Linked DNA regions of Homo sapiens: all the other regions are linked to region 1. Evidence: promoter capture Hi-C in human tissues and cell types (Jung and others, 2019). All regions are on one chromosome and are shown on one strand. The core of a region is centred on a gene start or on the middle of the fragment in contact, and the rest is flanking DNA. Distances in the headings are between cores, read along the strand shown. Region 1 holds the start of COL6A3 (collagen type VI alpha 3 chain). Region 2 overlaps LOC105373953 (a long non-coding RNA gene). Region 3 has its middle 6.8 kb from the start of PRLH.

Evidence for each region. The method cuts DNA at HindIII sites, captures the fragments that hold promoters and counts their contacts. A contact is called where the count stands out against the background at its distance.
Region 2: a contact is called between a fragment that was not itself captured here and the fragment with the promoter of COL6A3 in region 1, in 1 of the 25 tissues and cell types used here (aorta).
Region 3: a contact is called between a fragment that was not itself captured here and the fragment with the promoter of COL6A3 in region 1, in 1 of the 25 tissues and cell types used here (bladder).

The regions. Positions count from the first base shown.
Region 1 is chr2:237,412,087-237,417,106 of GRCh38, forward strand. It overlaps COL6A3 (collagen type VI alpha 3 chain), which reads right to left and starts at 2,078. Exons shown (of 44, transcript NM_004369.4): 1 at 1,867-2,078. The HindIII fragment of the contact is 4,662 bases long and covers 330-4,991 here.
Region 2 is chr2:237,232,195-237,237,214 of GRCh38, forward strand. LOC105373953 (a long non-coding RNA gene) reads left to right here. Exons shown (of 6, transcript XR_924035.3): 4 at 2,914-3,085. Among named protein-coding and RNA genes, the nearest start is that of COPS8, 150 kb to the left of the region's middle. The HindIII fragment of the contact is 4,205 bases long and covers 1-4,127 here.
Region 3 is chr2:237,557,224-237,562,243 of GRCh38, forward strand. No RefSeq gene overlaps it. Among named protein-coding and RNA genes, the nearest start is that of PRLH, 6.8 kb to the right of the region's middle. The HindIII fragment of the contact is 5,430 bases long and covers 22-5,020 here.

The DNA.
Region 1 (5,020 bases), core at 828-3,327:
GTAGCAAGAAACCCCCTAAACAAAGAAGTCCAGACAGGCAGCTGTTCCTACATCCTGATCTTTGTAAAAGCCACGCCTCCCCACCCAGGCTTTCATCCTCAGCTACAAGCCCACTTCAGAAAGAAGAGCATACAGGTCCCCTCCTTCAGCGCCCTCCACCCCCAGGAGGTGGCCTGAGCAGGGCGGCCAGCCCCGGTATTCCGGTCACGGAACCGATGCCCCCGCCCCACGGTCCACCTCCCTTCTTTCTCGGTTCATTGGTAGAGTCTTAGTGAGCCCAAAGCAGTTTTCCCAACGAGATGTGAGTTATTTGGGATCCTCCGTCACTGGCTTGTCTGCTCTCCTTCAATGGGGAAGGATTTCACTGCCATCTCAGGCACTCGCTCCCTGGCCTGGGCAAGGAATTCCGCATCTCAGAGCCCCTGGTTGCTCATTTTGAAAACCAGGAAACTACTGCATCAGTGGCTTCTGACCAAAAATCTCTTCCATTATCTTTAGCCCAACAAAAACCTCAGAAGTCCCAGTAATGTCATCAACGGCCACCCACTCAGTTTTCAATATAGTTTTGCTTAGGAGCAATGTAACTTTGATTTTAAAGCCATTTCGGTTGTTTTTTACAGCATTAAGAATGGGACCCTGGGGAGCTGGGGGATCCCAGGTTGAGCATCCACCATCCCCGTGAGCTCTGAGCACCCTGCAGCTCTAGCACCCTGTGGTCCTCGCCGGGGTGAGCTGTATGTGGGGAGAGAAGCCAGTCAGCCGGGGCCACAGCCCTGCCTCCCCATCCAGCACAGCAGACTCCCCTGTGCTCAGAGGGGTTTGCTCCTGGGGTCTGCACCGGCCTCGAAACTGGCTCCTGGGGCTTCCTGTGGAAGCAGATTTTTCTTTAACCACTCCCTAGTCCCTCCCAGTGACCCCACCCATACTTCAATACCCGTTCATTATCCAACATAGTAGGCCCCTTGAAACAGGTTCCCCAAACAGGCTGGCCACTGTCAGCGAACGTGTCCATCCTCAGCAAGAGAGGGCCCGAGCCCCACCCTGCATCCTCCGGGCCAGAGAACAGCCCTCGGGGCCTCCCAGCTCGGCACTGGCCTCACCTCTGTGCAGCATGGGCTGGCCCTGCAGCCCCAGGGGCCCTGCCTTAGACACTCAGCATGCTGCCCAAATGCCCAATTCCTTCTTCTCCTCTGACCCCTGCAACTCCTTTAAGCAACCCCAAGGGACAAAGTCTCCAATAGAGACTTCAGGTTCCTGGAAAGACGAAAGCTTGACGGCAATGACTGAGCGACCCTTTACTTGGCCCTGATCCTGAGCACCAGAGTTACTCCAATCTTGTGAAAGCAGCAAATGTGCTCCACCAGGACCTTCCCATGGGCGGCCCTGGGCAGAAAACCCATGCAGGTTGTTGCACCCTGACCTAGTGTCACCACCCAGAGAGCTCAGAGAACATCTCCCAGCGGAGCCGCCCGGCAGGGAGCTATGCTAGTCCTCAGCAAAGACGCTTCTGCAAACAAAGCGGATCCCGAATGGGTTTTAGAAGGCGGCAGTAACTTAAATAAATCATGGGCCGAAACACACTGCCGCCCGGAATGCACAGGGCGCGTGTAGCAGCCACAGACACGCGGTGGAAAAGTGCTCACACTCTTAGGCAATCATGACCTTAACCAATTTAAGGAAATCCCATTGCCATAAAGTGAGAAAGAAAAATCAGCGGAATCTTCCAGAGACCTAAAACATGTACAGAAAACTGGCGATCAGCATGAACGTAAGAGCCACTAACGCTACCTAGAAAGGATCACTTCAGGTTAAGAGCATTTCCTTCTAGCCCCAAACCTGGAAAAACAGAAGAGAAATCACACTTACCCCTGAGCAAACCTGAAGGCGTGTGTCCCTGGGCTCCTCGATTCAATTAGGTTTGAATAGGATGCATACTTTTCCCACTCACTGCGTCTCTTTTTCTTTTTGCAGCCTTTCTCCACCAAAAAAGTGGAGACTCAGAGCTGCGGAGGAAAACTCTTGCAGTCCTTGCAGGAGGCTGGAGCCCAGGAGAACTGAACGGCCTTTGGTGGAAGACTGAGCTCCAAACTGGACTGGGGCCAGGGATACCAGTCAGGGCTTCCTCCAGCTCCTCCTCCTCCTCCTCCTCCCTCCCGGACCCCTCCTCTCCCCCTCCTCACTGCAGAACTGACCCAAAACTGTAAATGAAACCAGACTCCTCCACTCTGTTTCTTCTGGCCCCCGCTCAGGCTGATGTCACCCTCTGAATTCTGTCTTCACCCTACAAGCGTTTAGCTGGACTCCTGCAAGCCCCAACTCTTAAAAAAAAAAATTGACCACTCCTACTCGTCACCTTTTGGGCTGGGCCCTTGGCGTCAAAAAGAATAAATTTTGGAATTTCTTCGTGGGTATCCATGGTTTTCCTGCAATGTTTTCCAACACCATCTGAAAGGAAAACAGGAAATGCAGTCCCCCGCTTACCCTCACCACACCCTCCCATTTCTTCTTGAAGTTTCTGAATTGAGACTTCTACTAATAACTTCCCCCTTCAAATAGAAAAACCAGCAATTAAAATCGCCTTGGTTTTCTGTTAACCAAAGCTCTGTTCACCGGCAAAAAAAAGGAGGCTACATTTCTCTTAATTTCTATATCTAATGATTCTGATTGTGGCGCTTATAGGCCCATTCTAGGCACAGACGGGGTAATAAAAATGGTTATCTTGCCAAAGCTTCGGGAAAATACTTGAGTAAGAACTTCTGTTTCTAGAAAGCTTTGCACATTTCAAAACACTTCAATATACATTCTCTCCTTTATCACAAACATCAACACCCTAAGCCCTTTTAAATAGAAAGATGTCTTCTTTTATTAGGTGAAATTGTGGTCCCATTTTACAGATGAAAGAAACAGGCTGGGCACGGTGGCTTATGCCTGTAATCTCAGCACTTCGGGAGGCTAAGGCAGGCAGATCACAAGGTCAGGAGTTGGAGACCAGCCTGGCCAACATGGTGAAACCCCTACTAAATCTCTACTAAAAATATAAAAATTAGCCAGGCATGGTGGCAGGCGCTTGTAGTCCCAGCTATTTGGGAGGCTGAGGCAGGACAATTGCTTGAACCCAGGAGGCAGAGGTTGCAGTGAGCCGAGATGGCGCCACTGCACTCTAGCCTGGGCAACAGAGTGAGACTCCAAAAAAGAGAAAAAGGAAAGAAAGAAAAGAAATGAAAAGAAAAGAAGAGAAGAGAAGAGAAGAGAAGAGAAGAGAAGAGAAAAAAGAAAAAAAGAAAAGAAAAGAAGAAAAGAAAAGAAGTTCCGAGAGAGTAAGTGACATCGTCATTGTCCAGTCTGGGTTAGTAACAGAGCTCAAATGACAACCCAGCTTTGGCCATCCCCAAACTTCTCACTGCTCTCCCATCATGTGGTCCTTATGAAAAGTCCATTAATGTGAAATATCAAGAGACATCCGAAAGGTTCTTTTTGACTGAGAGATCCTTCCAAACCAAGTTTGAAGAGCAAAGAAATCATTAACTCCTTTCCATGGATTATCTCCCTCCAATTTAGGGAAGAAAGGAGACAGCACCCCAGAGAGAATGCCTGCTCCCCTCTGCAGCTCCAGGGCTCCCTTCCTCTCCCATAAAGAAGCCCAACCCATCTCTAAACCAAAGGGCTCACTTGCAGAGCACTGGAGTAGGGAACAAGGATGGAACCTGAATTATGGGGTTCTTAGGTGAAGACACGCTGAGCAGAGGCTCCGAGTATAGAACCGCGCTGCCTGCATGACATGTAGAAGGACAACACGCCCCTCCAGCGGCATCCAATTCTCTGCCCTCATCCTCTCTGCACAGTGCAGGCGTTGACTCAAGCCCCTACAGAGACCGGGGATACTTGCTGCCACCCCCTTGGTTAGAGTCTGCAACTTCAGCACTAAGGAGGACTATTTCTCCCAGAACATTGTCTGCTGCGAAGAAGACAATCTTTGATTACAACCCCATGCTCCAAGCAGCTCAGCAAACTGAGGTTAACTGAACAAGCACGTTTTAGGTGTTTCCACTCCACGGTTTCTTTCAAATACAAATACACTCTTTTTCGCAAAATCGCTAGGCAGATGCATTCCTTGGTATTGAAAGTTTCTATTACAGTCGACCTCGTATCCATGGGTTCTGCATCCATGGATTTAACCAACTGTGGTTCAAAAATGCTTTTTAAAGTAGATGATTGCATATATACTGAACATGTACAGATGTTTTTCCTTGTCATCATTCTCTAAATGACACAGTATAACAACTGTTTACATGGCATTTACACTGTATTAGGTATTATAAGTAATCTAGAGATGGCTTGAAGTACACAGAAGGATGTGCATAGGTTATGTGCAAATACTACACCACCTTCCTTCAGGGATTGGGGCCTCTGTGGATTTGGGTATCCATGGAGGTTCCTGGAATCAGTCCCCCATGGATACCAATGGATGGCTATATTTAAACAGCAAGGGCAAGAAATCATTTAGAACATGATTTAAAGAAATAAAAGCTCCCATTCAGTAGGAAACCATAATCTTTAATATTTAGCTGCACCTACTCATTGATGATCCAGATCCTCTTCAGCACTGCCCATGGCTCTAGAAACTTCCAGAAACTCATGGTAAACCTCCCTTGTGCTAACAAGAGAGAATTTGGGTTCTATGGCAGCTTTCTTCCTTAATCACCACTATGTGGATTCCCACTTACATTTCCAGTTCCTCTCTGCTACCTGATCCCAGGAGGAAAACAACCTCAAAAGTTTGAGCTGCCCTAAACGTCCTGAGTCCTGGATCTAGGCCCGGCCATCGGTGGGACCTCATAAGTCACTGAATCTCTCAGTTCACCTCATAAGTCACGGAATATCTCAATTCTGTTTCCCCTTCACTGCAGGCTTGAACTGGCTCTTGGCACCTCTTCCCATTTTCTTCCCTTATCTTGTCCTTAACTACACAAGTTAGCAAGTTCAGAACTCCATTTTCCAAGCTCCCTTGTAGCTGTGGCCC
Region 2 (5,020 bases), core at 775-3,274, 180 kb before region 1:
CTCAGTCCCAACTCTTCATCCAAGTCAAAGTTTTTTTTTCCAAGTGTCTACCAAGTTTCAATGCCACTGAAGCCTTTCATTCTATGTCTAAGAATAGCACTGGGTCAGAAAACATCTTCCTTCTCTCTCACTTGGGGTTACTGACCCAAATACTGGCACTTGAAAAACAGAAAAGGCCTAGTTGTCACCACATGGCTCAAGGGAGTCACAGCAAGGAAGGTTGAAAACAAGTGCCAAAGGAACAGACATGAGTCAGCTTTGGAACCTTCTAGAAAACTAAGCCAAGGAGTTTAGATTTTGTCTCTTTTTGCTGCTGTTGGAGGAGATGGAAAACCAACACATATTTGTTGAGTGAATGAATGATTGAAATGTTTTAGAACAATAATTTGGGTAATAATGGAGAGTGAGTTTGACAAGAGAAGGAAAGAGAGGATGCCCCAGGCAGGCACATTGCTGAAATAACTGTTACGCACTAAGAAAGATGGGCCAAGGAGGGAGGATCATGAGGTCAGGAGTTTGAGACCAGCCTGATCAACATGGTGAAACCCCGTCTCTACTAAAAATACAAAAAGTATCCAGGCATGATGGTGTGCACCTGTAATCCCAGTTACTCAGGAGGCTGAGGCAGGAGAAACACTTGAACCCGGGAGGCGGAGGTTTCAGTGAGCTGAGATCGTGCCACTGCACTCCAACCTGGGCAACAGAGTGAGATTCCATCTCAAAAAAAAAAGAAAAAAAGAAAGATGGGGCAGGTCTGGACTGGGACAAGCACAAGTGGAATTAAAGATGCGGAGGGGTTGTAGAGACCTTTAAGAGCTGGAATTGATTATTAGTTGTCAGGAAGAAGAAGAAGAAATCAAGGATCTCTCCACATCATGAGGCTAAGTGTGGCAACACCAACAGCAATGGAGACAAGTGTGTAAGGCAACACATTAGGTTTTGGCCATGAACATGTCTAAATGCATATGTCAGGTAGGCGGGGGGTGCATGCTGGAGATCAAGAGAGAGATTGAGTCTAGTGTGCCAGGAGTCACTTGATTGATACTAGTTGCGGGACTAATATGTTCACCAGAGGATGCATTGAATAGAAGTGAGCAAGAAACTCGAGAAAGCATTCCCAATGCCTGGTCCTATTAATCCATCTCCAGTGCAACCTTGGCTGCAACATTGCTACTGTCCTTTCTGGCAACATTACATGGGTGGCTTATTAACCTACCTTGGAAAAGAGGTTGTCTGAGCCTGGGTTTCTCTCCACCCCACTGCCATGAAAGCAGAGTTTTAGCCAAGGACTTGTGTGCAGGTATTTTATTTAAAATGTAATCCCAGAGAATAGAAGTAAGGGATCAGGGAGAGTAAAGGAAGGAGGAAAAGCCCATAATGGGCCAACAGTCCATTATGAAAAGTGCACTATAAAGTTGTTGTGGGCAACAGGGGCTCAGTCCCACCTGGACCTAGGAGGAGCCTGCAGAATGCCTCCAGAATTGGCCTCCTGAGGACCCAAAGGGAACACACTTACTATGAGCCCCCATACTACATTGGGTGCCCCCAGGGGCATTACCACCCCACACTTCTAGATGCCCCTATATGTTTGTCAAGTGGGGACCTGCCAGGTCCATAGCAACAGAGAGGCTCCGGGGCAGAGAGTGAAGGAGGCAAGCTCATGCCTGAGGCCGGAGATGTCAGCAAATGTGACTGGAAGCACCCACAGAGCTTCCCATCATCAGAACTACAATCTAAGGGAAGCCAGGAAGGTGCAGGGAGGGGGTCTGGAGGTATATGATACATGGACCCTTTGAACTCCTCAGATCCACTCCTGCCTCACATTACATCCAGTTCCACCAAGACAAAATATTCAAGGTGGTAGTTGAACCAAAGTCTTCCAAAGACTCAACACACTGGGTCAGTGGAAGAAGGCACAGTCCCCACTGCTGCAATGGACCCAGAGGCCTCTGTTGTTACTCTTCACCTCATTCCTTCACCATCCTTTCCAGATCCTCCCCTCTATTTCAGCTAACATTTCAGCTGGTCTAGGTTGCTTGCCTAGACCTAAAGCTTAGATGACCTAAACCTTCCCCCTTGATGGGTCTCAGTGTTTGGCTGTCTTTCTTTTTTCAGGCCATGATTGCTGCAATTGCCTGTTACTGTTTTAGAATCACTAAGAGATGTTCCAGGGAATTCTGTAGGCTCCACCCCAGGAACACCTCTAGATCCTGATGACAGACTCAGTTACCCCTCCTTACTTGACTGTGAATCTGCAGGCATAGCAAGACCGAAATGAACAAGCTGTACTCGTAGGCTCTGAATCAGTGAACACCATGTCCCTGGAGGAAGTTCTATCCCAGGAAATTGGGGCCTGTGCTTCAGCAGGGTCTGATGTTATAAGAATGAGAAGCACAAATTCCACAGTGGATTAATGGAAGCTACAGGACCAGAGGCAATTCTACTTCAACTCCTTGTTGCACAAGCCTAAATATTGTAGCAAATGGGGAACCCGTGCATCAGCTGTGAGCTTACTCCATATGTTGCATTCCGGGGTACAACACCCCTAAATAAGTAGAAGACTTGGTCCTTTAATAGGTGCATAATTCTGGTATGCCAGATGTTCCCTGGCGATGTGATATATGGTAAGACCAGCAGATTCGTAAAATAGGTCTTCTGGTCCAAAGCCATGGTTTGTAGAATTGCATGTCAGTAAACAGGCATTCAGTAAACTCTAGAATGGCAGTTGTCAGAGGACAAGTGACAGACCAAGTCTACTGCAGTTCACCCACTGGGATGATTCCCTTCAACCGTTATTCTTTAGGGGCACCCTGATTATGGCCACTGTGTGAAAACAGTCCATTCTTGGCTCCCCCAGCATTTCTAGTCAACCCATCTTAGAAGCAAGTCTGAGTTATTTTTTTTATGCATCAGGTGATTAGGACCTGATGAAATTAGGTCCCGGCACAGGGAGGTGGATGAAAGTGAACTGAGAAGCATCTGGACCACTTCTTCTTGCATTTTGGTGCCTTCTGGACCTGCTCCCATACGTACCCCTACCATCATCCAATGGATTGCTACAGCATTCACTGAATCTGATGACTTGGTGAGTCTGACACTTCCCACTTCATAATGGATGGTTTGTCCACAGTCACTTAATACCCCAAGACCAGATGCTCTGGCCCTACTAAGGCCCAGTAGCATGCCAGGAACTTCTCTTCAAATGGGGAATACCTGTGAGCCACAGAAGGCACAGCTTTGTTCCAGGACTCCAGTGGTCGACACTGCAACTCACCTATTGGGCTTGTAACAACCACAACTCCACATTCTTTTCCACCACAAGCTTTGGATCTGCAGCGTCAGATAGCCTGAAGTGTAGGGCAGCCTGACCTGTGAACATGCTGCAGAGCCGACTCTAGTTCTGGGCTTTACTCCAAACTGGCAGCCTTGCAGATCCCTCAGTACATAGGTCAAGGCAGTGTTCAGCACAGTGTAAATGGCTTTCAATTCCAAAGAGAACAACATAGCTTTTTGCCTCTTTGATGGTGGTAGGGGGTGTGAGATACAATAATTTTTTATTGGGAAGAGATCACAGCATGTCCTAGACTAGTGACCCCCTTAAAATGTCATCAATGTGAGAGACTCCTGACTCTTTGTAGGTTTTATCTTCCACTATCTGGTACAAATGTGTCTTACGAAGGCATCCAGAGTACTTGTCATTTTCTGCCCACCAACTGGAATTAACATTATGACTCATATAAGGGACTAGTGTATCATACTATGGGTTGCCAAGATGATCAAAGCCCCTGCTTACTTTTTTGTCACAGAAAGCAGGAGAGTTAATATAGCCCTGGGATAAAGGGCTAGCGTGGTGAATACATGACTCCATGCGTTTGTCAAAACCTATAAAAATGGACACCACAAAGTGAATTTTAATGTATATACATTTTTCTAAAATCAGCTACAATGTTCAGGGACCCAAAAATGGAATATACACAGAGAAAAAGTAAATGTACCTAACTTTATTATAAATAAATAGTATAACCACACTGGAAGGGATGAGGAAGAAAAGAACTAACCTAGATAATGCCAAAAAAATTTATTAAGACTAAGAACAAAATCTACACACAAATAGAGTACTCTAGTTAGTACATTTGTTTTTCACAAGAGAATGAGTCACTACTCTGAAACCATACTATGAGTAGGGAACAAATATGTAAATAAAGTACAGAAAAAGGGAGCCACATGTCTTACTGTCAGAGAAATTAGTTACGAATACAAAGAGGTGACAGCTAGAATCATCTTTCGGCTATTCTATTGGAATTGGAGGCATCAGTATGAACTCATGGATTTTTAATGGATAGATAAGTATAGAGGGACAATGGTGCTGATGAAGATAGATAGGCAAAATAAATATAGATGTGTGTTTATGCATGAATGTGTGCACAAACATACATTCCCTAACTTTGAACTGAATGGGAAGAGACTAAAAGCAGTGGCACCACAGGGCCAATGAGCATATCTAGCACCCAGATCTTGAGTTCTAAATACTGTTCTCCAACAAAATAATCCCGGGAAAGTGGTTGATTTCAGGACTGGTTGATGAGCCTAGAGCTGATAAGATGACAGATATAAGAAACGGATCAAAAAGGGACAGGGACAGGTCCATTGGGCACAGACGCCAACCTGAAAGAACCCCCAATGGACGAATATTTGAGCAAATATTAAGAGTAATAGCAATAATTATATCCATGGGTCTATGCTGATATAAATAATTTAATAAATAAATTAGTTAATTAATTGGGGACCACTCTTAAAGAATTCCAGCTGGTAAATGTATAAGGATTGAAGGAAATATATAATCACCATTAGAACAACATGATAGGATGTGTTGCAGGCAAGATCCACTGATGAATGCTGAAATTAGTATTTCAAAGTTTGAAGAGAAACAAGCTTTTTGCATTGTCTAAAAATATCAACCAGAGTTCCGAAGCTGAACTCTTATTGCATGAGGATCAAGCTGTGAACCTTGCAGGGTGTG
Region 3 (5,020 bases), core at 1,487-3,986, 150 kb after region 1:
CTTGACCAATGCACAGTCCCTATATAAGAGCCTTGTCTGATGTTCAGTGTGTCTGTGTTTGAAACTTGTAAACTGGTTAGATGGGAGCTATGTGTGAGGGACGGGGAGCACCGTTTATTTTATCACAAATGCAATGCCAAGGTCCCAGAGCCGTGGCCACGTGGGGTAGGGGAAGCCTTCCTCCGGTGCTCAAATCTCACTAGCACTTTCTCTCTCAGTTCTCAGAGATGCCACTTTCTGGATGACTCACACTTCAAAAGCACCTTTCTAATTTACAAAGAGGAGTGTTTTAAAATCTCGTAAGAGTCTGGATTTTCAGAAGCCATCTACAGCAGAAACAGCTTTTCTGGTGACTGAATATTGCTCTTGCCGTGGCTGTTCCACAGCTGCAACTCGATGGCTTCCAATTCCCAAGGTTACCTCTCCCATCAGGCTGTGTAGTGTCTTCCTAGGAGGCCAGAAGAAACACACAGGCCACAGCCACGGTCCGCTTTCTTCTGGGAACAAGCACAAGGGACAGACATTTCATCAGTCCACTCAGACACACGTTTGAAGCCCTGCATTAGTTTCCTGTGGGTGCCATAACAAAGCCCCACAAACTGGTAGATTACAACAGAAAGTTACTCCCTCACAGTTCAGGAGGCCAGAGTCCAAAATCACAGCATCAGCAGAGTCGTTTCCATCTGCAGGGCCTGAGGGCAGGCAGTTCCTGGCCCCTTCCAGCTGTGAGGTTGCTGGCATCCTTGGTGCTTCTTGGCTTGTAGCTGCCTCCCTCCAGTCTCTGCTTCCATCTTCACATCGCCTTTCTCCCTGTGCATTTCTGCGCGTCTGTCCTCTTCTTATCAGGACACCAGTTGTTGGATTTGGGGTTCACCTTAATCCAGGATGACCTCATCTTAACTAATTACATCTGCAAAGATCCTAGTTTCCAAATAAGGTCATATTTGAGATTCCAGATGGGAGACTCCAACCCACTACAGAGCACCATTATGGTCCAAGAACTAAAACCAAAACCAGCTATCCATGAAATCAACTGTCCATCATGGTGCTGTTGCTACTTACCAAGTGCCTGCTACAGGCTGCACATTTACCATGTTGAGGGTGAAAGCTCAAAGATCTCAAAACTGAAATGCACCCCAGAGTAGGGTCCTCTCCCCATGTTGAGTACAGGAAGAAAGACTAGGAGGGAGGGAGGCTCTCAACTTGGGGCTCTTTTTTTATATATTTATTTATTTATTTAGAGACAGAGTCCTCCTCTGTCTTCCAGGCTGGAGTGCAGTGGCACGATCTCAGCTCACTACAACCTTTGCTTCCCTGGCTTAAGTGATTCTCCTGTCTCAGCCTCCCAAGTAGCTGGGATTACAGGTGCCCACCACCAGACCCAGCTAATTTTTGTATTTTTAGTACAGACAGCGTTTTGGCATGTTGGCCAGGCTGGTCTCGAACTCCTGGCCTCTTGTGGTCTGCCTGCCTCGGTCTCCCAAAGTGCTGGGATTATAGGCATAAACCACTGCACCTGGCCTTGGAGTGCCTATAATTGCAAAGAGCAGAAATCCACTGAAACCAGCCCAAGTGAAACAGCGAGCGTGAGAGAAGAACACAGAGCCTTCTCTTGGGGACCCAGGAAAACCCAGCGATCCAGTGCAGCAGCCACGGGGGCTGGGGTGGCTCTGCAATGGCCACGGCCTCGAGGCTTCTCAGCCCCCCTTGTGCCCTTCTCTTCCCTCTTGACTGTGAACTGCTCCTCGGCCGGTTCAGCAGGTGGCCTCTCTCAATGGCCTCTCCAACCCCCAACTCTAGGACTGTTCCCTCCAGCGGCCACAACTTATTTTTCCAGATGCCCGAGAGATAGATGGGCGGGGCCGTGTACATGCGAGTTGCTAGCCAACCTAGAGACAGCCTGTGCCAGAGAAGAGGTCGTCTTGCCCGGACAAGCAGGGTAGCAGGTCACTTCAACCCGTTCACACAGCACAACACTCCCACACAGTGCGTTCTCTTGTTCTCCCACTTTACACAATGGTTTTCAGAAACAGCACGAGGCTGTCACAGTGTCGACTGCACACCTGTTGCAACAGTTTGCCAGCTGGAGACCTAGACCCAGGGCAGCAAACGGCAGGCTGGGCCAAAGCCAGCTGCGGCCCATCTTCCTAAGTGAGGTTTCATGGGAGCCCAGCCACACCCATTCATCTGCCTTTTCCCCATGGCTGCTTTTCTGCTGCAACAGCAGATTTGGCCAGCTGCCACCAAGATCCTATGACCCACAAAGCTGGACACGTTTACTATCTGGCTCATGGCAGAAGAAGTTTGCCAGCTCCGTGTTCAAGATTGGATTTGGAGTGTCCCCTACAGACCACAAGCAAACGAGCCGGCAGGTGGGCGCCGTGATACAGTCCCTGACTCGGATGATCCCTTCTTTGTTGCGGGGCAACTCTGCCTTCTTCACTCCTCCCCGCTTCTACCCGCAAGACCCTCCTCCCTGGTACTTTCTCCGGGTCCTTCACTGAGTCGTTTTTCTCTGTCCACCCTCCGCCACCTGTCCTCTTCTTGTCTTCTCTCAGGTGTGCCCACCTTTCCCTGGCTGTTCACAGCCACCTGTCCTCTGTCCACACCCATGTTCAGGTTTACGGCTGAGGCCTCGTTAAAGAGCTCTGGGCTTCTTTGAGGTCTCAAACGTAAGCAAAGAAATAAAGGGTTCCAGGCCCAGCGAGCAGCCACCTGGCCACCCTCTAGGGCTCCTCAAACACCTGCCCACGACTGACCTCAGCATTTCCCCATCCCCAAGGCTCCCATCTTAGCCCCCCAGCTCTCAGTCTGGAAACCCCCGACCCATGACCTCCGAGCTCACTCCTTTTCTGCCCCTCACCTCAGCCCAAGTCCTACCCCATATGTCTCCTAGACAGCTCTGGAATTCCTATCTTTACCAGATCCTTTCCAGAGGACAGGAAAAAGGGGAAGCGTGGCTCCTCTTTCATAAGGCTGGTAAGACCTTCCTACTGAATGCAATGTGAGGAAGGAGAAGTAAAGGCAACATATGTTAACATATTTATTCTATAAATTAAATTTTCTTTTTTGTAGAGATAGGGCGTTGCTATGTTGCTCACGCTGGTCTCAATCTCCTGGCTTCAAGCAATTTTCCCACCTCAGCCTCCCAAAAGTGTGCTTGTACTACAGATGTGAACCACTAAGCACAGCCTAAAAGATCTATTCTAAATAAAGTATTCATGAAACAAATCCCAGAATCTATTAGAAAACCTATTGTATCTTACCAAGGTAAGGTTCATCCCAAGAAAGCCAGGAATTCTTTAATGTTAGAAAAAAATATATATTCTTGCGGTCCACTGTGTTAACAGAGTGAATGAGAAAACCACTGTGATCACTTCATTCAATGAAGAAAGGCACAGAAGAATAAATCAGTAGCTGGCCGGGCACGATGGCTCACGCCTGTTATCCCAGCACCTTGGGAGGCCAAGGTGGGTGGACCATTTGAGGTCAGGAGTTGGAGACCAGCCTGGCCAACATGATGAAACCCCGTCTCTACTAAAAATACAAAAATTAGCCAGGCGTGGTGGTGGATGCCTGTAGTCCCAGCTACTCGGGAGGCTGAGACAGGAGAATCGCTTGAACCTGGGAAGTGGAGGTTGCAGTGAGCCGAGATCGCGCCACTGCACTCCAGCCTGGGTGACAGAGCGAGACTCTGTCTCAAAAAAATAAAATAAAATAATAAATAAATAAGTATCTTAGAAAATTAGGACTGGAAGGCGTGGCAGTCAGCATCTTTGCTGTCATTATACCCGTGGCCTCCAGGAGGGTAGCATGGCAGGCAGTCATACTTTCCCCAGGGAGGGGACTTTCCTGCACAGGTTCTAGTTTGTATGTGCCACAACTCAAGTGGCCACATCACATTCTGGATGAAATACTGACCAACAGAAGCTGGACCAAGAGTGCTTGGCTCTGCCTTTCCTGAGGCCCATGACGCAGTTAAATAGGGGATGGGGAGAAGCTCCCTGACTGCCTGTGGTCAAAACCCATCTGTGGGATTCATTTCTCTAAAAACACTGAAGCCATGTGCATCCTGAAAGCCCCAGGCCAGGCCTGCAGTTCTGTGACATTCTTGCAAGAACAGCCCACACCTCACTCGCCATCACAGCATCTCCGGCCAGCCACAGTGCCTCTCAGCGGTTCTGAGGTCTCTGATGGACACCATCGCCTTCTTCGTGGGGGTGGGGTAAGCAGGATTGATGCCTGTGCTACTGCCCAGCCCGCCTGCTGCCTCCCACTGGTGGACTCCCAAAGTGGCAAGATGCCAGTGCCACACTGTGACAGCGCTGCTTTACACACACACACACACACACTCCAGTGGTGGATGCCCAGAAAGCTGCCCCCAGGTCCTGGGGTCTCAGTTTCTGCTGCTACAGGCAGGCCTAGCACTGGACAGAAAACACACCTCCAAGATGGTGATACTTAACCACCACTATCACCACTACAGGTCAAGTTCCCTTATCCAAAGTACTTGGGACCAGAACTGTTTTGGATTTTAAGGGTTTTTGGGGGGAGGATTTTGAAATATTTGCACTATACTCATGAGTAGAACATCCCAAATTTAAAATCCAAAATGCTTCAATGAACATTTCCTTTGAGAATCAACTCAGCACTCAAAAAGTTTCCGATTTGGGGTTTTTGGATTTGGGATACTCAACCTACATTTGTAAAAACTATGGGTAAAAACTATGGATGGGGAGCTTTTCGCCATCACTGATGCCTGAGCTACCCCCACAAATTCTGATGGAATTCATTCCAGGTACAGCCCAGGCATTAGGAGGTTTTTAAGGCTCCCAAGTGACTCTAATCAGCAGCCCAAGCTGGGAGCTGCGAACCCCACCCCATCACCCTTCCCGTGCTGCTTACCCTACTTCCCGCCTCCAGCTACCCCTGGGCTCCAGAGCTCCCAGGGAGCCCACCAGCCACAAACCTGTGTCACTGGGAAAAACAACTACGCAGCAAGGAAGAAGCCACTGTGTCC